5 separate regions of the Homo sapiens genome follow, and regions 1, 2, 3 and 4 are each linked to region 5. The links are contacts of gene promoters, found by promoter capture Hi-C in blood cells and fetal thymus (Javierre and others, 2016). All regions are on one chromosome and are shown on one strand. The core of a region is centred on a gene start or on the middle of the fragment in contact, and the rest is flanking DNA. Distances in the headings are between cores, read along the strand shown. Region 1 overlaps WDR33 (WD repeat domain 33). Region 2 overlaps WDR33 (WD repeat domain 33). Region 3 has its middle 13 kb from the start of SFT2D3. Region 4 overlaps WDR33 (WD repeat domain 33). Region 5 holds the start of UGGT1 (UDP-glucose glycoprotein glucosyltransferase 1).

What was found. The method cuts DNA at HindIII sites, captures the fragments that hold promoters and counts their contacts. A CHiCAGO score of 5 or more calls a contact.
Region 1: a fragment that was not itself captured here is called in contact with the fragment with the promoter of UGGT1 in region 5 in 1 of 17 cell types (activated CD4 T cells); the score reaches 5.4 in activated CD4 T cells.
Region 2: a contact is called between a fragment that was not itself captured here and the fragment with the promoter of UGGT1 in region 5, in 1 of 17 cell types (total CD8 T cells). The highest score is 5.2, in total CD8 T cells.
Region 3: a fragment that was not itself captured here is called in contact with the fragment with the promoter of UGGT1 in region 5 in 2 of 17 cell types (total CD4 T cells and naive CD4 T cells); the score reaches 6.6 in total CD4 T cells.
Region 4: a contact is called between a fragment that was not itself captured here and the fragment with the promoter of UGGT1 in region 5, in 1 of 17 cell types (total CD8 T cells). The highest score is 6.4, in total CD8 T cells.

Annotation. Positions count from the first base shown.
Region 1 is chr2:127,706,719-127,711,975 of GRCh38, forward strand. It overlaps WDR33 (WD repeat domain 33), which reads right to left. Exons shown (of 22, transcript NM_018383.5): 19 at 2,975-3,138; 20 at 2,772-2,864; 21 at 1,959-2,174. Among named protein-coding and RNA genes, the nearest start is that of SFT2D3, 7.8 kb to the left of the region's middle. The HindIII fragment of the contact is 2,022 bases long and covers 1,342-3,363 here.
Region 2 is chr2:127,776,215-127,781,314 of GRCh38, forward strand. The region is part of intron 1 of WDR33 (WD repeat domain 33); the gene reads right to left. Among named protein-coding and RNA genes, the nearest start is that of WDR33, 32 kb to the right of the region's middle. RefSeq lists silencers at 27-227, 867-1,067. The HindIII fragment of the contact is 1,172 bases long and covers 2,476-3,647 here.
Region 3 is chr2:127,686,168-127,691,547 of GRCh38, forward strand. No RefSeq gene overlaps it. Among named protein-coding and RNA genes, the nearest start is that of SFT2D3, 13 kb to the right of the region's middle. The HindIII fragment of the contact is 6,533 bases long and covers 366-5,380 here.
Region 4 is chr2:127,740,604-127,745,450 of GRCh38, forward strand. All of the region lies in intron 7 of WDR33 (WD repeat domain 33), which reads right to left. Among named protein-coding and RNA genes, the nearest start is that of SFT2D3, 42 kb to the left of the region's middle. The HindIII fragment of the contact is 3,666 bases long and covers 32-3,697 here.
Region 5 is chr2:128,087,346-128,092,785 of GRCh38, forward strand. It overlaps UGGT1 (UDP-glucose glycoprotein glucosyltransferase 1), which reads left to right and starts at 3,855. Exons shown (of 41, transcript NM_020120.4): 1 at 3,855-4,070. The coding sequence starts at 4,013. RefSeq lists an enhancer at 3,617-3,926. The HindIII fragment of the contact is 755 bases long and covers 3,623-4,377 here.

The sequences.
Region 1 (5,257 bases), core at 1,103-3,602, 380 kb before region 5:
GACCCTGCCTCCCCCTTCCTGGCTCATGGCCATGGGCCTCAGCATCAGCCAGATCCATGCCCCCAGGGCTGTGTGACAGACGACAGGAAGCCAAGAGATGAGCAAGGAGCACCTTCAGGGAGACCCGGGCCACACTGGGCCATGTCCCAGGCCATGGGAAGTGTATCTGCCTGCTCCCAGCCACCAGGGTATATTGAGGGAAGGTTTGAATATACTGACTTAACTTTGGAAGTACACACTGCTAATGTTAATAAAAAGTGCTCCAACTAGGACAAGCGTTCACTGGGACTGTCCCGTGACATGTGGCACTTTTGGCTTCCTTTTCATAATTAGTAAAATAAAGTATTTCTTGAAAAAACAAAAGAAAAGCACAAAAACCCAAAAACCCCACAAAACACTGGCTTTCAGGTTCTATCACCGAGGCACAGCTTAACCTGCTTCAGACTAGTATGCACAAATGTTTAGGTACTATTAAAATTCTTTCATTCTGTTGCAGCTTGAGAATATATTTAAAAAAAAAAAAAAAAGAAAAAAAAGAAAGGAAAAGGAAAAAAAATTCTATCTTGTAAGATTTTTTTCCTCAGGAAATGATAGGATTTGGTCACATCTCCCATAATGCACTCTCAGAAGATGACTGCAAACTCTCCGCTGTCTCATATTTTGTAATAGAATATGAATCTAGCTGAGATGAAGTTAGGAGAGCCAGCCAAAGGAACAATCTTGGCTTCTTTTCTTAGAAAGTGCAGCTTCAACCCACCTGAGGCACCTGGGCAGAGTGTCAGCTACTACATCATTCCCATGCTAACTGCATGTCCTTGACCAGAGGGACCTAATAATGGTGTGCTGAGTGCCCAAGAAAGTCAGCCAAGGTCACAGCACACTGGCTAGTAGTACAATGTGTTTATGCAGGGTGATCTATTGATGATACATAAGGTAATTTCTGAGGGTTTTGTTGAGACAAACAACTATCAAGATCAAATGGCAGGCCAGGCATGGTGGCTCATGAGAGGCCAAGGCAGGTGGATCACTTGAGGCCAGGAGTTCGAGACCAGCCTAGCCAACATGGCAAAAGCCCATCTCTCTAAAAACACAAAAGCATGGTGGCGCACACCTGTAGTTCCAGCTACTGGGGAGACTGAGGCACAAGAATCACTTGAACCTGGGAGGCGGGGGTTGCTTGCAGTAAGCCAAGATCACACCACTGCACTCCAGCCTGGGCGACAGAAAAAAACCCAAAAAGACCAAATGGCAGAACTCTGTACTGGAAGGACCGTCCATACAGACAGGCCAACTTCAGGAGCAGAGCACAAGCTGGGGCATGCGGGGAGCAGCCTTCCCAGAAGCTTCCGAGCCACACCACCTATGCACCTCCCCCGCTGCCTTGCAACCAGAGTTGTATAGTCAGCCTTCAGAGGCAACTACTCCTGGCTAAAGTTAGTGCTGCCTATAACATAAAGCTCCACAGTTCCCAGTTGAGGAGATAATCTACTGTGCCCCTGGAAACACTGCCCATAGACCATGTTTCCCAAAGTCTCTGTGACTTTGAGCACAAGCAGTGTTCCTCTAGACCCAGGCTAAAAAAACCAACAGACCACCCAGGAGAGGACAACTCTTCCCCTCCCACTGAGAGCCCTTGAGGGTTCCAAGCAGCCTTGTGGAGGGCAGACTGCCAAGGAGAGCAGGGCTCCCAGACAGCAAGCCGAGCAGAGAGTGCTGGGGCATCTTGGCAGAGGGCTGAAGTGAAAACCTCAAGTGAACAGGGATTCCCGGAGGCAAGTGGAGTCCTGTGCAGGGCTGAGTTGCAGTCCACCAGATGACAGCTCGTGTGGCACTGGCACCACATTTAGGAGCATGTGCCTCTGCACAGCCCAGGCTGCAAGGGCATGTGCAGCAGATACAGGCAAGGCCTCCATCGGCCCCTGCATCTCCTGGAACCATAACCACTGGCCTGCTCTTACCTTTGCCTCCTCGGTCTTCAGAAGGGCCTCCTGGGGCCTCCATCTCTCTGTGCTCAGAAGTGCCTGGGCCATCATGCCAGGGGCGCTTTCGGGGAGGTAGGGATGCCATGTCCATGCCTTGGAGAGAAGAGGAGCGTTCTCTGCTGGCTGGGGAATGACCGTCGTGAGGGGGATGATCAGGGCGGGGAGTATCACGAAAATGTTCATGACCTGGCCCTGAAACAAGAAACAAATCTCCTTACAGGAAAGCACAGTGTGACCAGAAGTAGATGGGAATGACACTGTGAGAGTAAGGAGCAACTCGAGAGCCACCGTTCACTCATGCTGAATGCCCGCCAGAGGCCAAAGGGTAAGCCACCCAGACATCAGGGTGCCTCCTCATGTAAGAGGGGCAGGTAAGATCCAGAGAACTCGTTCTCAGGCATTGTAGTATCAAGACGTCTTTACAGTCTCAAATTACTGAGGACTCCTAAGAGATTTTGTTAATGAGAGTTGTAACTGCGAATATTTACCATATTAGCAATTGAGACTGGGGAAATTTTAATTCACTTAACTTTATTCTCCAAAAGCAATTTAGTGGAAAGAGCAGTCCCGTTTTATACTCAGATAGATCCCTGTAATGTCTGGCGGATTCCTCTGCTCTGCATTCCACCTGCTGAGATCAAGTGCTGCGGCTGCAGGACAGGAGACAGCCCAGCCCCCCGGGAGACATGAGCTGGAAAGAGGAGACCCGGTGCACCCCAGAGAGGGCCCTCAGAACTCACTTTGTGAACTGCAGTCTAGAGTTACCCAACAAGCGGTTCTTTTCCTTACCAGGCTCTCTGTTTCCATCCCAGGAATCTGGCTTCCGCCCTCCTTCAAAGCGAGGGAACTCGTCAGGAGTGGGAAGTAAACCCTTCCTTCCTCCTACACAACAGAGCAAACAATGCTGCACTCAGACTGTTCCTGGTGTATTCACAACCAGTGTATTCTGCACCCTATCCTTCCAGACCAGGTGTCTTTAGTAACTCGCTCACCTCGTGGGGTACCCCGACCTCGACCTCTGAGATCTCGTCCTCGGGCCGCTTCCTCAGAAGCATCAAAATTCTCCTCTGGACCAAAGTCTTCAGGACCAGGAAAACCATCCCTTCCTCTGGGGGGAGCACGGCCCTCATGCCTCGGCGGGGCTCCTCTTCTGAAACTGTAAAGAGAAAACAGCAGAATGTCCATCTCAGAGAACACCTTGCCACTCTAAGTTCATGTTTCAAAGAAGCATATGATATGAGAAAGCATGATACAATGTTAATTGGGAGGAAAACAAAATAAAACTATATATTTTTGAAAGGATACATTATATAATCCTATTAATACTATCAGAGGCAAAAACAGACCAGAAGGAAACACACCAGAGTGTGGAGTTACTTTAAGCTTCTTTTAGGCTTTTAGGTATATACAAGTATTACTTCATTTCATTCATTTCATTTTCACAGCCACCATATGAAGCTGGTATTATCAGCAGTTCCACTGATGAGAACACTGAGGCCCAGATTGCTGACATCATTTATTCAAGGACACAGAGTAAGTGCTGGTGATCTGAACTCAGCCAGTCTTGACCCTCGGCCCAGGTTCTGTATCACTGCCTCACAAATACTTATCATTATCATCTACATTTGTATGATGAACATTTATGACATATAATCAGAAAAATGGGGGCACAGATCGTGTCTGCCAACCATACTGGACCTGTCTGTAGGTAGGGGCTCTGCCATCTGCCCCAGCCCACAGCCTCCACCCAGGGGCAGGCCTCCATGACCACGAGTGGCACTCATGGCCCGAGTCCACAGCTGATGGGCACACAGGTCAGCATCTGGTTTACAGGCAGCGATCCACTGGCTAGCTGGCAGTCTGGAGCCCTGCTTAGTGAACAGCTTCCCCTTCTCTCAGGAATTTTGGAGCCAGGAGACTACACTGACTGGGAGTATTGCTGAGGCAGAGAGGGTACCAGGAGGTCTGTGCGAAAGAAGAGAAAGTGACCTTCTGGCAGCGCTCACTGAGAGGCGGTGGCGCCACCCTGCAGGGCCCCTCTGCATGAGCTGCATGGCCTCCTCCCAGGCCAGGCCTCTGCTCTTCCTCAGGTTTCCATTCCATTGCCTTTATCCTAATCTTCTACTTGGAAGATTTTCAAACTTACAGTAAAGCTGAAAGAACAGTACAATGAACATCCCAGATCCTCCACCCAGATCAATCCCTTCTTAATATTTTGCCACACGTGCTTTATCTTCTCCGTCCAGCTACTCACAAACATGTTTTCTAAACCATTTGAAAATCAGTTGCCAACACGAGCTTTACCCCTAAATCCTTCAGTCCATTTCTTCTAAGAACAAGAACTTTCTCCTATATAATCACAATACCTTTACACTCTCACACACCAGCCTAGGCTATGGGTCTGCACTGACAGATGAAACACAATACAAATCAAGACAGGATGGCCGGGCACAGTGGCTCACACCTGTAATCCCAGCACTTTGGGAGGCCGAGGCAGGCAGATCACTTGAGGCCAGGAGTTCGAGACCAGCCTGGCCAACATGGCTAAACCCCATCTTTACTAAAAATACAAAAATTAGCTGGGCGTGGTGGCGCGTGCCTGTAATCCCAGCTACTCGGGAGGCTGAAGCACAAGAATCGCTTGAACCCAGGAGGTGGAGGCTGCAGTGAGCCGAGATCATGCCACTGCACTCCAGCCTGAGCGACAAAGCAAGATTCCCTCTCAAAAAAAAAAAAAAAAAAAGACAAGGTAAAATGTAACATTTTGCACAAGATGCAGAGATTCAATAAGTCAGTGAACATTACGCAGATGTAAAGCTCTTCTAGTCATAAAAAGCCATGTCAAAGGTAATGCTTGGATATCATTAAGAGAGGGTCTTAAAAACACTGGGAGCCCTTACGTCTTTATTTTTAACCTCCCTATCTCCCCTCCCCCAAAACAATTGCTTCCTTAGCCCCGACTATGTCATGCTTCTGAGCCTGTCATCAGCCTTGCTTTTCTCACCACCCCTGAGGGTGGGCTGGCCAACCCTAACTCAACCACATATACAGATATATATATATATATATATATATATATATTTTTTTTTTGAGACAGAGTCTCGCCCTGTCACCCAGGCTGGAGTGCAGTGGTGCAATCTTGGCTCACTGCTATCTCTGCCTCCCAGATTCAGACGATTCTCCTGCCTCAGCCTTCCGAGTAGCTGGGATTACAGGCACGCACCACCATGCCCGGCTAATTTTTTGTATCTTTAGTAGAGACAGGGTTTCACCAT
Region 2 (5,100 bases), core at 1,812-4,311, 310 kb before region 5:
AGAGAGAAGACAGCCATCTAGAAGCCAAGAGGAGAGGCTCTCCAGGAACCAGCCCTGCTCACATCCTGATCTCAGACTTTCAGCCTCCAGAACTGAGAAGATACATTTCTACTGTTTAATCCACCCCCGCACCCAGTCTATGGTATTTTGTTATGGCAGCCCTAGCTAAGAGAGTGGCAGTCAAGGCAAAATACCTCCTGACTCTCCTTCAACAGAGGTTGACAGAAACATTGAGCAATCACAACTGTAATCCTAGCACTTTGGGAGGCCGATACAGGTGGACTGCTTGAGCCCAGGAGTTCAAGACCACCCAGTAAGACCCTGTTTCTACAAAAAACACAAAAATTAGCCGGGCCTGGTGGTGCACACCTATAGTCCCAGCTACTCAGGAGGCTGAGATGGCAGCCTGGGAGGTCAAGGCTGCAGTGAACCAATGTTGCACCACTGCACTCCAGCCTGGGTGTCACAGTGAGACCCCATCTCAAAAAAAGAAAAAATATTTGAGCAAAAATGATACAATAGCTTTCTCTGAGAGCAGAAAACTTGACATGTGAGGCTGAAAAGTTATTGACCACGACAGAAAGAACCAATCCTCAAACAAGTCATTACAACTATCCTCTACGCTTTACTTGGGATTATACTCCAAAGATCTAGATTTATGACCAAACACAGAGAAAGCAGAGCTTTGTCCTTTATAAAGGTAATTAATGTGATTTGTACTCACTGCAGTATTGACTTGAGGTATGCTAACAGAACAACACAATTTAAAGTACTTAGTCCCCAAAACATACTCATCTTACATCCAGGGTGGAGAGGGAGGAGAGACAAAGAGTTTGGGAAAGGAGGGTGCAAGAGAGAGGAACTGAGGTAGAGAAAAGACAAATAATTTGCCTATTGTTGAATTCAGTATACACTAACAATACAACCAAATTGCTAAGGACAAGAATCTGTGTGAAACACTGAATTCATCATGCCTTTCTCCTATACATAAACCTTCAATGTTTCAAGCAATCAGCACAGTTTTATCAAGAGCCTACTTTACATGCATACACTGCCTCAGGTACAGCGCACAATTCTGATTCACTAAATATCACTCCTAATTTCGCAGAACAGTAGTTTTCAGACTTTGTGGTGCCTGGCCCCCTCTCTATTTTTAGCATATATAAAGATCCTGAGTACACAAAAGTTTGCATCGCATCCTTAGCCTTAGGCTTTCAACTGCTCAAGAAAACCAGGAAGGCCAGTCAATTTCTCCATTATTTTCTCAACCTGTAAAATGAGTTCCATGCCTCAAAAATATTATTTTGCATTAAATTTGTATCTTTCAACAATGTGGTGACTATACTATTGAACAGAATGGAACACTCAGACTTAGTGTGTCAATGTTTGTATGCACAAGTCTATACCAACGTTATAATTCTGCTTTTTTGAGACAGGGTCTTGCTGTGTTGCTCAGGATGGAATACAGTGGCACTACCACAGCTCACTGCAGCTCAAGTGATTCTCCTGTCTCAGCCTCCCAAGTATGTGGGACTACACATGTGTGCCACCTGGGCTCAGCTAATTTTTTTCATTTTTTGTAGAGACAGATCTTGCTTTGTTGCCCAGGCTGGTCCAGAACTCCTGAGCTCAAGCGATCCTCCCACCTCAGCCTCTCAAAGTGGTGGGATTATAGGCATAAGCCACTGCACCTGGTCAATTCTGCTTCTTGTCCCAAATGCTCACAAGATAACTTCTTGTATAATCTTAGTCATGTGATGATACTGAAATTATAGCTGAAGATAAAAGTTAAAAATGAGCCGGGTGTGGTGGCTCATGCTTGTAATCCCAAAACTTTGAGAGGCCAAGGCAGGAGGATCTCTTGAGGCCAGGAGTTGGAGACAAGCCTAGGCAGAATAGCAAGACCCCCATCTCTGCAAAAAAATTTTAAAAAATTATTGGCTGGGTGCAGTGGCTCACGCCTGTAATCCCAGCACTTTGGGAGGCCGAGGTGGGTGGGATCACCTGAGGTCAGGAGTTCGAGACCAGCCTGGCCAACATGGCAAAACCCCATCTCTACTAAAAATACAAAAATTAGCTGGGCGTGGTGGCTGACGCCTGTAATCCCAGCTACTCAGGGGACTGAGGCAGGAGAATCGCTTGACCCCAAGAAGCAAAGACTGCAATGAGCCAAGATCATGCCACTGAACTCTAGCCTGGGCAACAGAGCAAGACTCCATCTCAAGAAAAAAAAAAAAAAGAAAAAAGAAACAAACAAAAACAAAAAAACTGATGAGCCCTGACTACCTGCCAGACAATGAACACACACACACACACACATTCTGTTCTCAAGAGTCTGACCGTTTCTCAGTACAGAAGAGCTCAAAAGAACAATGTGAGAAGTTACTACTACACTGAGACACTACTACGCTGTGTGAGAGGCACTATTACAAGGGATATAGCACAGGAAACTTACAGCACCAATCAGCCTTAAGAAGCTTAAATTCTGAGTAAAGTGAGGGAGGCAAGGGCAGGGGGTGTCAGGGGAGAGACACTTGAGAAAAAAAAGTAAATAAAGCTCTCTAATTCACTCAGCATACCAAGGCCAGCATAATTTTTCCCCAACCAAACATAATTCAAAATAATCTTTCACCAACCAAATTTCTGACTACCATTTGAATTATTTTACCATAATAGATCTCCAACTAAAACACATAGGAAAATGACCTAGCTAGCACTCAACTAATTCCTCAGCTTCAATACAAAATGAATTTACTGAATGCTTCATACAAATGAGTAAAAAGAGTTTTAAACTAAGATTCCTGGGGGTAGAGCGAGGCTCTGGCATCAAAAAAATGCTGACATGAAATATCATGAATGAGCCTAAAGCGGTGCTTTTTCTTTAAACCAGAAATCACATCCCATTGATGGTTCCTGAAATCAATGTGGCTGACAAGCAGCATTATTTTAATAATTAAAAAAAAAAAAAATAGGGCCAGGGTGGTGGCTCATGCCTGTAATCCTAGCACTTTGGGAGGCCAAGGCAGATGGATCACTTGAGGTCAGGAGTTCGAGACGAGCCTGGCTAATATGGTGAAACCCCATCTCTACTACATACAAAAATTAGCTAGGTGTGGTGGCGCACACCTGTAGTCCCAGCTACTTGGGAGGCTGGGGCAGGAGAATAGCTTGAAACTCAGAGGCAGAGGTTGCAGGGAGCCAAGATCACGACACTGCACTCTAGCCTGGGCAACAGGGCGAGACTCCGTTTCAAAAAAAAAGTTAAAAAAAATAGAACATATGATAGAACTGCGCATTTGAAAGAACTGTTTTTGTGCAACTACTGTTTCTATTGTGTTTGTGTGTATGCATACAGGGTCACAATATTTACAAAGTATTTTCTTCCTAGGAATCTGTCAATTGAAAGCCAAGGGCTTGCTGTTAGTAACACTGTGAGGTATTCCCTTCCTGTGTATTTTCTGTTTATTATCACCTAATGTCTGCTGCCACTGCATATCCATAGCCAAAGAAGATCACATATAGCATCTGTCCAGTATGAATACTGTGGCTGATCACAGTAGCTATGGTACCAGAATTTGATCCAATTATCAAATCCAACAATTCCTACCATGTCAGCCACTAATCAGAGCTTCCAATCAGAACAAGAAAGCTTGTTTTCCCAAACTGAGATAACAGAATTCTAACCAAAAGCAAATTATTGATGCATTAACTAGCTAGCAATTCATATAGGACTTTTAAAAATAATAAAAAGGTTTTTTTGATTTTTTTTTTTTTTTTGAGACGGAGTCTCGCTCTGTCGCCCAGGCTAGAGTGCAGTGGTGCGATCTCGGCTCACTGCAAGCTCCGCCTCCCGGGTTCACGCCATTCTCCTGCCTCAGCCTCTCGAGTAGCTGGGAATACAGGCCCCCGCCACCACGCCCAGCTAATTTTTTGTACTTTTAGTAGAGACGGGGTTTCACCGTGTTAGCCAGGATGGTCTCGATCTCCTGACCTCGTGATCCGCCCACCTCGGCCTCCCAAAGTGTAAAAATAATAAAAAGTTTTAAGATTCCCACCTCCATTAACACTCCTGACCCCAGGGTCAAAACCTCAGCCTGGAAACCTGTTTTAGATTATTTATGTATAGTCCACTAGGTTCTAAGATAATCAATCTACTCTAAAAGAAATTTGATACCCAATCTGTCATTGAACTTTGAGGGGATCTTCATGAGCGGCAGGCTAGACCAGTAACAAAATGATCAACATGCTCTTTCTCTTCATTGTCCAACTTTAATTAATATGAATCCTGAAAAATCAGGAGAAATTACATGGAGACCATTCAATCTGTTAAAGAATAATCAATGAAGCTGTTTAAATAAGTAGGTTTTGGCCAGGCACAGAGGCTCATGACTGTAACCCCAGCATTTTGGGTGGCCAAGGTGGGAGGATCACTTGAGGCCAGGATTTGGAGACCAGCCAACACAGTGAGACCCTCCTCCTTCAAAAGTAAACTTTCACCTCCAGTCCCGTCTACTCAAAAGGCTGAAGCAGGAGGATCCCTTGAGCCCAGGAGTTTGAGACTGCAGTGAGCCATGATCACACCACTGCACTCCAGCCTGGGCAGCAGAATGAGACCCTATCTCAAAATAATTAATTTATTAATAGCTTTTTATTTTTTACTTTTTGAGAGACAGTCTCACTCTGTTACCCAGGCTGGAGTGCAGTGGCACCATCTCAGCTCACTACAACCTTCATCTCACAGGTTCAAGCAATTCTCCCACCTCAGCCTCCCAAGTAGCTGGGACTACAAGCGTGCCCCACCACACCCGGCTAATTTTTTTCGTATCTCTAATAGAGACGGGATTTCACCATGTTGGCCAGGCTGGTCTCAAACTCCTGACCTCAAGTGATCCACCTGCCGCAGCCTCCCGAAGTGCTGGGATTATAGGTGTGAGCCACCATGCCCGGCCCAATTAATAGCTTTTTAAAGTTCGAGATTCTATTATCTTGACTGTGGTAATAGACACATGAACATATCCAAGAGATTGCATATTGTACGCTTCATTTATATGACATTCTTAAAATGCCAAAACAATAGAAATGACTGCCAAGAGTTAGGGG
Region 3 (5,380 bases), core at 2,382-4,881, 400 kb before region 5:
GCCTTTCTGACTCAGCCTGAATTATACCATCTTTCTTGAATTTTCCCCTTGCAGGTGGCAGATCATGGGACATCTTGGCCTCCATAGTCATACAAGCCAATTCCTCATGATAAATCTCCTTTTGTATTTATATATATGCATATCTTATTGGTTCCATTTCTCTGGAGACTCCTGACTAATACAGGGAATTAACAGGAGGTAAGTTTTCTACACTTTATTTGAACTGGTAATATGCTGCCACCAGTAGGCTGTGCATAAGTTATATATGTATGGCTTTTTAGAACAACCACAAAAAAACCTATACAAAGAGATATACCCCCAAAACAGTATAGATAAGTAAAAACGGAATTCTAAAAAATATTCAAAGCTTACATAACAAGGCAGGGTAAGATACACGCAACGACTCGGATATATCTCAAGGGCATTATGCTGAGTGAAAAAAAGCAACCTGCAAAGATCACATACTGTATGATTCTACTCATATAATATCCTTCAAATGACAAAATTATAGAGATGACAAATAGATTAGTGGTTGCCAGAGACTGGGAATGGTTGCAGTACGGGAGTGAGTGTGACTATAAGGAGTGTTCTTATCCATTAACATAGGATGTCTTTCCATTTATTTAGATCTTCCTTAATTCTACTGAACAATGTTTTGTGGTTTTCAGTGTGTGTAAGTCTTGTGCTCATTTAGATAAATTATTCCTAAGTATTTTACTCCTTTTGATATGATTGCAAATGCAATTGTTCTCTTAATTTCCTTTTCAGATTATGACTGCTGGCATATAGAAACACAAATAAATTTTGCATATTAATCTTGTATCCTAAAATCCTACTGTACTTGTTAATTCCAGAGCTTTCTTGGAAATTCCTTAGACTATTCTATACACAAGACCATGTCATCTGCAAATAGAGGGTAGTGTTACTTCATTTCTTCCAGTCTTGATGCCTTTTCTTTTTCTTGCCTATTGTCCCTGGCTAGAAACCAGAAGTGGAAAGAGCAGACATCCTTGTCATCTTCCTGATCATAGGCTGAAAGCATACAGTCTTTCATCATTAAACATGATTTTAGGACACACATGGTGACTCACACCTGTAATCTCAGCACTTTCGGAAGCCGAGGCAGAAGGATTACTTGAGTCCGGGAGTTCAAGACCAGCATAGGCAACATAAGGAGATCCTGTCTCTACAAAAATTAAAAAAAAAAAAAAATTAGCAAAGCATGGTGGCATGCGCCTGTCTGTAGTCCCAGCTACTTCGGAGGCTGAGGGGGGAGGATCACTTGGGCCCAGGAAGTCAAGGCTGCAGTGAGCCAGGATAGCAACACTGCACTCCAAGCCTGGGCTACAGAGTGAGACTTTGTCTCAAAATATATATATATGATTTTAGCTGTGGGTTTTTCATAAACCCCTTTACAGTGTTGAGGAGGAAGCTCTCTTCCATTGTTGGTAGAAGTCCTCTTCTGTTCTTGTTTTCATTTGTTTGTTTTATCATGAAAGAGTGGTGGGCCAGGCATGGTGGCTCATGTCTATAATCTCAGCACTTTGGGTGGCCAAGGCAGGCAGATCACAAGGTCAAGAGTTTGAGACCAGCCTGGCCAACATGGTGAAACCCCATCTCTACTAAAAATACAAAAATTAGCTGGGCATGGTGGCGCATGCTTGTAGTCCCAGCTACTCGGGAGGCTAAAGCATGATGATCGCTTGAACCTGGGAGGCAGAGGTTGCAGTGAGCCAAGATCGTGCCACTGCACTCCAGCCTGGATGACAGAGTGAGACTCCATCTCAAAAAAAAAAAAAATAGTGGTGAATTTTGTCAAATGCTTTTTCTATGTCTGTTGAAATGTCCATATGAGTTTTGTCCTTCAGTGTATTAATGTAGTGTATTACAGTGATTGATGTTAATATATTATACCAACCTTGCATTCCTGGGATAAATCCCACTTCAATGTGGTATATAATCCTTTGTATATGTTGCTGGATTAGGCTGCTAGTAATTAGTTGAGGATTTTTGTGTATATTCATAAGAGATGTTGGCTGTAATTTTTCATCCATCTCCTTTGTGCTGTTACTGTTAAATAACATTTTGACAAAATGTTGACACATATTACATTCCTATATGTGCATAGCCCATAAAAAGTTACATGCATATTTTCTTATGCAATTACTTTTTAGATCAGTTAAGAGGAGAAGAAGAAATATGCAATTATACTTTATATTGTAATTATCTACTTTTACCAACACTTTTGTTTTTCATGTGGATTCAAATTAGTTTCTGGTGTCACTTGCTTTCTATCTGAAAAACCTTAAATATTTCTTGTTACTCAGGACTGGTAGCAATAAATTCAGTCAGATTTTATTTATTTTGGAGTGCTTTTTATTTTGCCATTATTGTTGAAAGATAGTTTTGTTGGGTATGGAATTATTGGTTAACAGGTTTTTTGTTGTTGTTTTGTTTTTACTGTTAAGCACTTTGAACATGTCATACCACGGCTTTCTAGCCCCCATTGCTTCTGATGAGACATCATTTGTCAATATTATTGTACTACTGGTACACAATGAATTGTATTCCTTTTGCTGCATTTAAGATTTTATCTTTATCTTTGGCTTTCAAAATTTGACTATAATATGTCTGAGTGTGAATGCCTTTGTGTTCATCCTACTTGAAATTCATTGTTTCTCAGATGTTTAGAATAATGTTTTTCATCAAAGTTGGGGAAATTGGTCAGGCACAGTGGCTCTTGCCTTTAGGTGATGAGTAAGCTCAGGACTTTAGGAGGCTGAAGTGGGATGATCATTTGAGGCTAGGAGTTCAAGACCAGCCTAGGAAATACAGCAAGACCCTGTCTTTACAAAAAACTTGAAAATTAGCTGAGCATTGGGGTGCATGCCTGTAGTCCTAGCTACTTGGGAGGTTGAGGCAGGAAGAATGCTTGAGCCCAGGGAGTCAAAGTTAGAGTGAGCTATGCTTGTGCCACTGCCTTCCAGGCTGGGTGACAGAGCAAGACTCTTTCTATAAACATGATAATATTAATAAATTTTAAATAAATAAGCAAATAATTTGGGGAAATTTTCAGCCATTGTGCCTTCTAATAATTTTTATGTCCCTTTCTCTCACTTCTCTCCATTATTCTTATGTGTATTAGTCCATTTTTACATTGCTATAAAGAAATACCTGAGACTGGGTAATTTATAAAGAAAGGAGATTTAATTGGCTCACAGTTCTGCAGGCTGTACAGGAAGTGTGGCAGCATCTGCTTGGCTTCTGGGGAGGCCTTAGGAAACTTATACTCATGGCAGAAGGTGAAGGAGAAACAGGCACATCTTACATGGCCAGAGCAGAAGGAAAAGAGAAGGAGCAGGGAGGTGCTACTTTTTTTTTTTTTTTTGAGCTGGAGTCTCACTCTGGCCTAGGCTGGAGTGCAGTGGTGCAATCTCTGCTCACTGCAACCTCTGCCTCCCAGGTTCAAGTAATTCTCCTGCCTCAGCCTTCCAAGTAGCTGGGATTACAGGCACCCACCACCATACTCAACTAATTTTTGTGTTTTTAGTAAAGACAGGGTTTCACCATGTTGGCCAGGCTGGTCTTGAACTCCTGGCCTCAGGTGATCTGCCCCCCCTTAGCCCCCCAAAGTGCTGGGATTACAGGTGTGAGTCACTGTGCCTGGCCCAGACTTGTAAATGACCAGATTTTATGAGAACTCACTATTATGACTAAGGAGGATGGTGCTAAACCACTGGAAACTGCCCCCATGATCCAGTCACCTCCCACCAGGCCCCACCTCTAACACTGGGAATTATAATTTAACACGAGATTTGGGTGGGGACACAAACCATATCATTTTGCCGCCGGCCCCTCCCAAATCTCATGTCCTTCTGATATTTCAAAATATAATCATGCAGTCTCACAAAGTGTTAACTTATTCCAGCATTAACTCAAAAGTCCAAAATCTCATCTGAGACAAGGCAAGTTCCTTCCACCTATGAGCCTGTAAAATCAAAAACAAGTTAGTTACTTCCAATGGGGGTACAGTCATTGGTTAAATACTCCCATTCCAAAAGGGAGAAATCAGCCAAAAGAAAGGGGCTTCAGGCCCCATGCAAGTTCAAAACCCAGCAGGGTAGTCGTTCAATCTTAAAGGTCCAAAATAATCTCATTTGACACCATGCCCCACATCCAGGGGACACTAGTGTGAGAGCTGGGCTCCCAAGGCCTTGGGAAGCTCTCCCCCTGTGGCTTTGCAGGGTTCAGCCCACATGGCTGCTCTCAAGGGATGGTCTTGAGTGCCTGTGGCTTTTCCAGGTGCAGGATGCAAGCAGCCAGTGGATCTACCATTCTGAGGTCTGGAAGACAGAGGTCCTCATCTCACAGCTCCACTAGGTAGTCCCCCAGTGGGGAGTCTGTGTGGGGGCTCCAACCCCACATTTCCACACTGCCTTAGTAGAGGTTCTGTATGAGGGCTTTGCCCCTGCAGCAGGTTTCTGCCTGAACATCCAGGCATTTCCATACATCCTCTGAAATTTAGGCAGAGGCTCCCAAGCCTAAACTCTTGCATTCTGTGCACCTGCAGGCTTAACACCACATGAAAGTTGCCAAGTTTAATGGCTTGCACCCTCTGAAACAGTGGCCAGGGCCCCTTTCAGCCAGCTGGAGCTGGAGCAGCTGGGATGCAGGGAGTAGAGTCTCAAGGCTGTGCAGGGCAGCAGGGCCCTGGGCCTGACCTAGAAAACCATTCAGTCCTCTGAAGCATCCAGGCCTGTGCTGGGAGGGGCTGCCACGAAGGTCTCTGAAATGCCTTCTAGACCTTTTCCCCATTGTCTTGGCTATTAGCACTTGGGCTCCTCTTTACTTATGCAAATTTCTGCAGCCTGCTTGAATTCCTCCCCCGAAAATTAGCTTTTCTTTTCTACCACATGGCCAGGCTACAAATTTTCCAAACTTTTACACTCTGCTTCCCTTTTAAATATAAGTTCCAGGTTCAGGTCATTTCTTTGCTCACACATATGAGCGTAGGTTGTTAGAAGCAGCCAGGCCAATCCGTAAACACTTTGCAGCTTAAAAATTTCTTCCACCAGATACCCTAAATCATCACTCTCAAGTTCAGAGTGCCACAGATCCCTAGGGCAGGGGCACAACACCACCAGGTTCTGTTGCGAATATGTAACAAAGGTTATCTTTGCTCCAGTTCCCATTAAGTTCCTTATTTCCATCTGAGACCTCCTCACCCTGGCCTTCACTATCCATATTACTATCAGCATTTTGGTCACAACCATTTAACCAGTCCGTAGGGAGTTCCAAATTTCCCCTCATCTTCCTGTCTTCTTCTGAGCCCTCCAAACTCTTCCAACCTCTGCTCATTACCCAGTTCCAAAGTCACTTC
Region 4 (4,847 bases), core at 615-3,114, 350 kb before region 5:
TCTAAATCCCCCAATGCCATGGATTACCTTAAGCTTCAAGTATACGATTAAAATTTAACTATGAAAGATGTCTTAAGAAATGGAAAAATGATGGAACTTGGGAGAATATCAGGAAAGAGGTAAGGAAGATTATTTCAACGCCACTAATGTGAAAAGGGAATTGTGCTTTGGAATAAAATCATGATTTAATACTAAGTAAAAACAAATATGCAAGCCTCTTCCTAAATTACTTTCAAAGGTTTGCAGAGGATGAACTTATTTCGCAAGACTGACATATGTTGGCTACAAATTTTAGGAAATTTTGAAAAAACTTCAACCAAAAAGTGGCCATTCTCTAAAAACAGATGGACCCTACCTATGAATAAACCAGAGTAGAGAAAAATGAAACCCAAAATACATAGACTGTAGTTGTCAGTGACAAAGGTTGTGGCAAAGGCTCAGTGACAAAGGCTGTGATGAAGTAATGAGGGTAATTATAGGGAGACTTGTCCAGGTTGTCCCTCCTGACTTCCTGTTTCTGTAGAACAGATGCTCTCAGTCAGACAAAGCAAATTATACAAAGCACATTTGTTACAAAAAGCACATTTCAGTCTGGGAAGAAACCCTAGAGCAGGATTTGAGGCTGAAGAGTAAAGCAGCACAAAGTCTGCAGAAATGCCACGGATGACACTGAAAATGGAAAGAAGTGGAGGGCAAAGAGAGAATGGGAGAGGAGGAGAAAAAGAGAAAAGAGAAGGGAGGGAGGAGAGAAAGATGGCAGTTCCACTTAAGAGTGGAATAAACTTAAGCACTCCACCTCAGAGTACAAACCACAACCCACTTACTTGATAAATGTGGCAGTGGCCTGTGCTTCTCCACTCACTTCATTAAACACACACAAACATGCACGTGTGTACACATGTACAAGCACACACACAGACACACGAATCCACAGTGAGATCTTCCATCCAGGAGAGGACCCTTGTAGGTAAGCGAACTTAACTGCAAAAAAATGCAAGATAGCTACTTATACTAACCAATACAAACCACCATTCAAATCTCTGGACAACCAAGGGTCACTGCGTTATTTGAGAAAAAGCAAGTACCAGGAAAGAGAAAAATACAGATTATATGACTTTAGGGAAAACAAACAGGAACAACAGATCAAACCAGACATCCACACAAACACCCCAATTACTATGTTAAAGGTTTTAAGGGGTATATTCCTTAAAAACAAACCAACTACAAAACAGGCTTCCTTGAAAAATGAAAAGATTAGAGAACCACTAGAAATTCTTGAAAAGTAAACATGCAGTTGATAAAAATAACACTTTCCGGCTGGGCACGGTGGCTCACACCTGTAATCCCAGCACTTTGGGAGGCCGAGGCGGGTGGATCACCTGAAGTCAGGAGTTCAAGATCAGCCTGGCCAACATAATGAAACTCTGTCTCTACTAAAAATACAAAAAATTAGCCAGGTGTGGTGGTGGGTGTCTGTAATCCCAGCCACTCCAGAGGCTGAGGCAGGAGAAACACTTGAACCCAGGATGAACTTGGGAGGCAGAGGTTGCAGTGAGCTGAGATCGTGCCATTGCACTCCAGCCTGGGCAACAAGAGCGAAACTCCATCTCAAAAAATAAAAATAAATAAAAATAAAAATTTCGGCTGGGCACAGTGGCTCAAGTCTGTAATCCCAGGACCTTGGGAGGCCAAGGTATGTGGATTGCTTGAGCTCAGGAGTTTGAGAACAGACTAGGCAACAAAAAATTAAAACTAAATAAAAATAAAAATAAAATTAGCTATGCATGGTGGCTCACACCTGTAGTTCCAGCTACCAAGGAAACAGAGGTGGGAGGATCGCTTCAGCCCAGGAGGTCATGCCTACAGTGAGCCATGATTGCACCGCTGCACTCCAGCCCAGGAGACAGAGACCCTGTCTCAAAAAAAAAAAAAAAAAAGGGAAGAAAAAATCACCAGAAGGGCTGAAAACCAGACTGGGCATGATTGAAAAGTAAATCAGTATTCCAGGAGACAAACAGAAATCTCCCAATACTTAGAGAAAGGGCAGGAACACAAAACATGTAAGAAAAAATAATACTAGATAGACAGCTCCAAACAGCCCAACAGTCATCTCCTAAGAATTCCGTAAGACAAGCAAAGACAATGGAAACAATCATCAAAGAAAGAAAAATCCTTTAAATGGAAAAAAGATAAGACTGCAGATGACAGTATGCCAAGAAAGATGAAGTTTAAAATATGTATACCTATACTCACAGTTAAAAAAAAAAAAACAAAAAAAAACACCCCTCAGAGAAAAGAGATCATTCAGAAAACATTCAGAGAGGAAAGTCAAGATATATATAAAATAATGAGACTCAGGATTATATTTGAGTTATCAGTAAAACTGATGGAAGATAATGAAGGACGTAAAAATTCAGAAGGCAAAGGATTTCAAACCCCAAACTATGAGTCAAGTATGATGGTAATTAAATACCTTTCCAGACTCAATAATTTTGATTTACCTCCTAAGCGCTATTTCTGAGAAAAATGTTTGAGGATTTTCAACTGAACTGGGAAAAAATAAAAAAAGAGTGGACTTAAAAGAATGCCTTCAAAAACAAAAACCATTTACTCAAATTGAAAAATTAAAAACCTAAAAATTTGCTATGATAAAGGTTTTAGTGACATTGATTTTTAAAAACAGGAAAGGTAATAATAAATTGCAAGACAAAAGTGAATTAAACTATGGCATTATTTTCAACAGTTGACAGCATGACAGACTTAATACAAAAGCAGCATACTTGATCTTGACACTGTCCAAGCAGAACAACTTTTCATTAACTACCACAAGATTATCACTCTTTCTGCAAGGCCCCATTATACTGCTTGGTTCTGTTATCAATAGTATCATTCATAGCAGAAATGCTATCTTTTTTGTTCTCATTGTTTAGAATTTTAAAATATGAAGAAAACAAAAGTAGCCATAATTCAAGAACAGAATAAAATTGGCTTAAAATCCTTGACAATTCAGAAGTAAAGGAAGACAAACGGCAGAAGTGGAAACACATTGAGAGGCACAGATTTCCTTCTGTAACCTAGTGGTGAGCCAAGGAATATTGGCTAAAGTTGGCAGTCCCCTTAAAAATAAAGGTTTAAGAACATTTAAAGCTATAAAGAAAACCACTGAAACTACAATTCATTATGACAAAAACGAGGAGGTAGGAGGCATGGTTGGTGGTGTGAATAACACTCAATTCCTCACCTTTGATGACAGAAAGAGGCACTACGTCAGACAGATATACCAAAATACATATTATGTGAAATTCTGATGACCACAAGAATAGAAACAATTAGTTTTAAGAAACTACCTCTGGGGAGAGGTAAAGGATTGGCAGATTTTTAAATTTCATATTCCATCCCTCTATGGGGCTGGAGGAAAGACTTTTTACCATGTGTGCTTATTATTAGTGATTTTTAAAAATAAGGTTAAATATTTAGGTGGTGACAATTTCCTAAAATGTTAATCCTGTGTTATTTTCAGTTTGGCTAGATGACAAGAACTTTCTTAAACTTCATCGTTGATGACTTCCTGGACAGTGAAGACAACTCATCTTCCAAAAGTTTAAATGTTCATACCCTTTGCTCCATTGAGTTTATTCTTAGGAGTCTAACCTAATGGAAAATTTACGTAAGTAACACAAATATAAAGGTATTAGGAAGCTTAGTGCACAACTGTGTCTTGGCAAAAACTTCTTGCAAATCCCAAAGGCCTATCAGTGAGGAATAGTTAAATAAATTACAGTAGATACATGCAGTCAAAAAGACTGGGGTAGTAATGATGCAGAAAAATGACCTTAATATACAGTATAGTGAGAAAAGCAAATAGCAAAAGAATATACGTAGTATAATCTCCTTTCATGTAGTGATTTTTAAAAGCATCTTTTTGTATATGTATAGGAATTCTAAAAAGATATACACCAAGCTTCAACAGAACAGTGCTTACCTCTGGATGTGAAATTGGGAAATAAGAGGGGAAAGACGTTGACTTTTTACTTCTAAGTGAACCTTTTATGAATGTTTATTACCTTTGTAAAAGGCAGAAGTTCTCAAGAAAAACAACTCTTAATCCCACCCAATTCTTTCCTTACCTTTCCACCCTTACATTCCCCAGTACTCTTCCACCACAGATCTCAGGCTTCCATATGGCATATTGTGTAGGTGTGAATACACCTTCATCCTGCACTTCATATTTTTTCAAGATATTGTAAACCTACCAAAAAGTACTGTCTCCAATTCTTACTTCCATGCAATTCATAGAATATACCTTTCACCATGCATGACTGATGAAAAAAATGCATCTCAGTGTTGCATTTGGTCTTCGGCTTGATTGGTTAGAGAATGGCACTGCTAACGAAGCCAGGTTGCGAGATCCCCATATACATCAGTTATTGTTATGCAGTCAGCTTGCCTTTGTACTTATCATCTTCCTGATCACAGGACCAGATATAGAAGGATCAATGTAAATCCATTTTAACTAGTGGAAACACTTCTTTAAAACGCATACTGAGAGCGGCCTTCAGTGGCATAGTTGTTGTATTCTGAAGAACACATTTGTGTAAATGTACGACCCAGAGTTTATTTGTTCAACCCAGTCAAGCATATAAAAATCACATAACTGTGCTATCGATCCTTCCCAGAGAGAATTCTGGTTAATCAGATATCTGCAGCAGCATTACTGCCTCTGTGCTCTTTGGGACCAGTGTGATGTTGGAATACATGGGACCACGAAGTTCCCAGTGTCTGGTCTGTACTTCTCATCTTCAACCAACATACTGAACACAAAATCAAAGAAATATGGCGGAGTGAAG
Region 5 (5,440 bases), core at 2,605-5,104:
GTAAAATGGTACAGCCATTCTAGAAAATAGTTTGGCCTTTCCTTACAAGCAAAATGTACATTTACCATATGATCAAGTAATTGCACTCTTGGGCATTCATCCCAGATAAAAAAAAACTTAGGTCTAGGCCAGACATGGTGGCTCATGCCTGTAATCCCAACACTTTGGGAGGCTGAAGCAGGTGGATCACTTGAGGTCAGGGGTTTGAAAACAGCCTAGCCAACATGGCAAAACCCCATCTCTACTAAAAATAAAAAAATTACCCGGGTGTGGTGGCACACACTTGTAATTCCAGGTACTCAGGAGGCTGAGGCAGGAGAATTGCTTGAATCCAGAAGCAGAGGTTGCAGTGAGCCAGATCACACTACTGCACTCCAGCCTGGGTGACAGAGTGAGCGACACTCCTTCCCAACAAAAACAAACAAAAAACTTGTGTCTATGTAAAAAACCTTTACATAGGGCTGGGCGTGGTGGCTCATGACTGTAATCCCAGGACTTTGGGAGACCAAGTGGGGAGGATTGCTTGAGCCCAAGATTTTGAGACCAGCCTGGGTAACATGGTGAGACCTGATCTATTAAATAAATAAATAAATAAATAAATAATTTTTTTTTATTTGAGACAGAGTCTTGCTCCTCACCCAGGCTGGAGTGGAGTGGCGCAATCTCTACTCACTGCAACCTCTGCTTCCTGGGTGCAAGCAATTCTCCTGCCTCAGCCTCCCAAGTAGCTGGGATTACAGGCGCCCACCACCATGCCTGGCTGATTTTTGTAATTTTAAATAAATAAATAAATAAATATAAATACAAACCTGTACATGAATGTTAATAGGAGCTTTATTTGTAATAGTCCAGAACTGGAAAAAACCCAAATATCCTTCAATAGGTGATGCTAAAATGAATCTGTATGTTTGTACCATGGAATATTACTCAGTAATAAAAAGGAACAAACTACTGATATCTACAACTTGTATGGCTCCACAGGTGGTTATGCTGAGTGAATAAATAAATAAAAAAGCTACATACTATGTGATACTATTCATATAACATTCTAGAATTGAAAAATTTTATATTTAATGATCAAAATGATGGTTGCCACAGGCTAGGGGTTTTGGGGGTAGGAAAGTAGTTCTGACTTCATAAAGGGGTAGCACAAGGGAGATCTTTGTGGTGCTGCAATAGTTGTGGGTCTTCATTTTGGCAGTGGTTACACAAATGTACAGACATACACAAAATGATGGAAATATACCTGTCTCCCCCACACAATGTACCAAGTCAATTTCTGGTTTTCATACTTTAATATAGATATTTGAAATGTAATCATTGGGGGAATGGGCTTAAGGGTACAAAGTACCTCTGTGTACTATCTTTGCAACTTCTTGTGAATTTATAATTATTTCTAAATAAAAAGTTTAAAAAATTTTTTAAAATCTGTTTTTATTCAAATAAGGTAGCACTTTTCAGAGAAAGGTTTAGAAAAGGTGAAATCCAACTTTCCTAGAAGCTCTGTGCTACCACTTAGCTGTATTTTAAAACTAAGCAAACTTTGGTTTTGTTCATGGATCACATAGCAGAAGATCAAGATAAGGCCAAGAAAAAGTATATAATCAACTTTGTAATGAGGTGAATTAACAATTTCCTTTTTATTGAAGCATTAGCTGATGTGATTTAAAGAGGGCTAGAAAATACACTATGGAAAGCTAACACAACAGCTCCCTTGTGAAATAAATTTTAAAATGCTCATGTTTTTTTCTTTTCGTAGGTGTGTGTACACATTTAGTTTTATTGTAACAAAGCAACTTGTACACTTTTAACATTTAAAACTGAGCATGATCTTTCCTTTCCAGTGAAACAAAATTTAAAAATAAACAGGAACAAAATTACAATAGAGAATGTCAATTCCAAATAAGATCCTAGAGGTTCTGCTGATTCTCCCACTGAGTGGCAGGGCTCAAGTCATCATTAGGAGAGAATTTATTTTAAAAGCGTCATCTTAAACTGCAAGGATGTGTGTCAAACATCGCAATTAAACATGCCAAAGGAGAAGCCATGTTGTCAAAATGTCCGCTTAACCCACCCAAACATCTCAGACCCACCCTTTGCTGACTTCTAGAATCCCATTTTTTAAAGTTTTTTTCTTTTTTTAAACAAGAGAAAGTAGACAGAAAGATGTTGGTAAATGCTAACTGTCCATATTCACATAGAGACCCAGTGTACTCTCCGAGCCCAATATACAGAGAAAGCAGGAAGAAAGCTAGAATTGAATGCTCTGCTACACATGGGCCTAGAGCCCTCCAGCTTCCAGCAGGGCGAAGGGAGCAGGTTTTTCTTTTTTCCCACAGAGCTGGGGTGATGTTGATTCTATACAGTTTTTGCTCAGACAGGAAGGGATAAAAATGAATTTCGAACAGAAAGGGGTAGAGACTCTTTTCCCATTGTATTCTGCTGAAGTTATTTCCCCCAAAATAAGTTGAGAACTATAGTGTAGAGAAAAGAAACCTCAAGAACAGGGCGACTGAGCACAAGAGAGAAAAAACAAAAAACAAAAAAACAAAAAAACTGCAACTTGCTCCCAGGGACTGGAGAAAATGTAAAAAAAGGAAGGTTGGAATCCATCAGTGTTTTTTTGCTGTTGTTGTTGCTGTTTTTTTTTTTTTTGAGATGGAGTCTCCCTCTCTCGCCCAGGCTGGAGTGCAGTGATGCGATCTCTGCTCACTGCAAGCAACCTCCGCCTCCCGGGTTCACGCCATTCTCCTGCCTCAGCCTCCATCCTCAGCGTGAGCCACCGCGCCCGGCCTCCATCAGTGTTCCATTAGTCATCTCCTTCATCCTCCTCTCCTTCCTCCCCTTCATCATGTTGGCTCATGTTTATTTATTAAAATTATTTTGGGCCGGGCGCAGTGGGTCACGCCTGTAATCCCAGCACTTGGGAGGCCGAGGCGGGTGGATCATCTGAGGTCAGCAGTTCGAGACCAGCCTGGCCAACAGGGTGAAACCCTGTCTCTACTAAAAATACAAAAATTAGCCAGGCGCGGTGGCGCACGCCTGTAATCCCAGCTACTGGGGAGGCTGAGGTGGGAGAATCGCTTGAATGCGGGTCGGGGGGTTGGGGGGTGGGGGGCGCGGGCGGGGGCGCGGAGGTTGCAGTGAGCCGAGATCGCGCCACTGCATTCCAGCCTGGGAGACAGAGCGAGACTCCAACTCCAAAAAAATATTTTTGGCTTTTCATTCACTTTGACTTAATATACTTAAAAATATACCCTCCAAAGAGGTATTCATTTTTGGGTGGGTTAAATGCTACCTATTCCAAAACAATTTTAAACTGGTTTATATTAGTTAAAAAAAAAATACTAAAAGGACAAAGTAGTCCCTGTAGACTAAGCTGCCGCTGTCCGAATAAGAAAGCTCAAGCGGCTCATAAAATTTAAAAAGTCTTCCTTTCATCATGCCTCCTGGAAGGTAGCTATCAAAATTTTAGGGTTTAGTATAAAGTCTAAGATGCTCAGAAACATTAAGACAATTGTCCTTACTGTGCCACCGAAAGGCTAAAGGGAGTAAGCTTTTAACAAAGGTTTAAGGGAGTAAGTCCCAGAGTCCAAACTGGATTTCACCGACTGACTGTTGAAGCTTTCGGGTCTCAGCTGTTGGCCCAACGAACCTTCCCAAGACCTTGAAGACCGGCAGCCTACCCGCCACCCTGAAAGGCGGAAGTGAGGAGAGAGGCAGGACTCCCCCCTCCCCAACCCTCGGAGATGAGAGGGCGACCGCGCGACGCTCTGGGCTGCTAGGTCTCGACTCGGTATCCGGAAGTCCTCCAGCGTTCGCCTGCAGGAAGCGGAAGTAAAAGGGCGGCCGGCAGCTGGGCAATTGCTTTGCGAGGCTGGGTGTTGAGTCGAGCCGCGGGAAAGGCGCGTGTCGGCCTCTCACTGGCGCAGCCTGCACTGCCGCTGCCGCCTCGCCCCGCCCTGCCCTGGCGTTGTCTCTGGCACTGTGGCGGACTGACCACGGCCCGGGCATGGGCTGCAAGGGAGACGCGAGCGGTGCGTGTGCCGCGGGTGCGCTGCCGGTGACAGGTACCCAGGGGTGGCGTGAGGAGGCCTCGTGGACAAAGAGAGGGTTTGGGGCACAAGGCGACCCTGTGCCCCTGTCACATTGAGCTTCCGCCTCTACCGTGACTCAGTTTACCCTCTGGTGTCCTATCCCTTCCCCTATTCGCGAGCGCCCCGAGTTGCCCTCAGTGGTCTTCTTGGCAAGGTATCGCTTCCGCGGGGGTGGCGGCGGGCTCTGTTCAGCGGTCTTGAACCTTCTTTGAAGAGCTTTAGATCCTTGTGCCAAGTGCAGAAGGAAATGGGGGAGGTATCCTACCATGGATTTAGACCAAGCTTGATCCTCAGTGAGTTGAGAAGCAGCACTTTGCAGGACCCTGATTGCAGAACGACGTGCTTTTTAAAATAGATTTCAATTTTTCCTAAAATGAATTCGGGTTGATGCGTATTGGTTACTGTTTTCTTTTAACACTGTGATCTGTTGGCTGGAAATTGGATGATATGGTTTCACTTTTAGCGTGGGACCTGCCAGAATGAGATCTGCGTCCGTCGCCAATAACTTATAGATGTGAACTGTTTTTGTTCCTTGGCCAGAATCTGCAGTTGTTTTGCATTTCTTGCCAGATTTGAGAAGGAGCAATTTTGTTCGTTTGAAGTCCTGGGGTCTTTTGCCTTATTGTGCTACACTAACTGTTTTGGAAACATTCATTGATGTACTTGCCAGCCAATTTTAGTGTAAAGTGCCCTCTTTCCTTCAAGAATCTTACACTTGCAGGCGTTTGAAGACATTTTAAATAGCTATTTAACAGCACCACAAAACTTGGAATAATTGTAGCCTTTTCACTTTGCTTTTTTTTTTTTTAAGCCAGTCGAATTTAGCAACACTTGACTTGCTTTTGATAAACTTAGCTGAAGCTTATTTTAAAAAAATTCTTATTTATTTATTTATTTATTTATTTTGTAGAGATGAGGTCTTGTTACCTACCAGTCTGATCTTGAACTCCTGGCCACATGAAACTTATTAAAGGAAGTGACCATAATACTTTGTACAGTAGCATAGCACATTTATAATGCACATTGAACTTCAGGGGAATATATGAAAGTAAGAAGAAAATTTGCTTAGAACTTTCCTGCAGCTGTCTGTGAGCATTTTCTTTTTTTATCTAAGTTTCCCTGTAACAATACAAGATGATGTGATAATTTTCTTTCTTTCTTTCTTTTTTTTTTTTTTTTTGAGATGGAGTTTCACTCTTGTTACCCAGGCTGGAGTGCAATGGTGCAAGAGATAGTGTTTTAATTTATTTTTTTATTTTTTGTTGGTGAGGCAGAGTCTTGCTCTGTTGCCCAGGTTAGAGAATAGTGACATGATCTTGCTAGCTGCAGCCTCCACCTCCTGG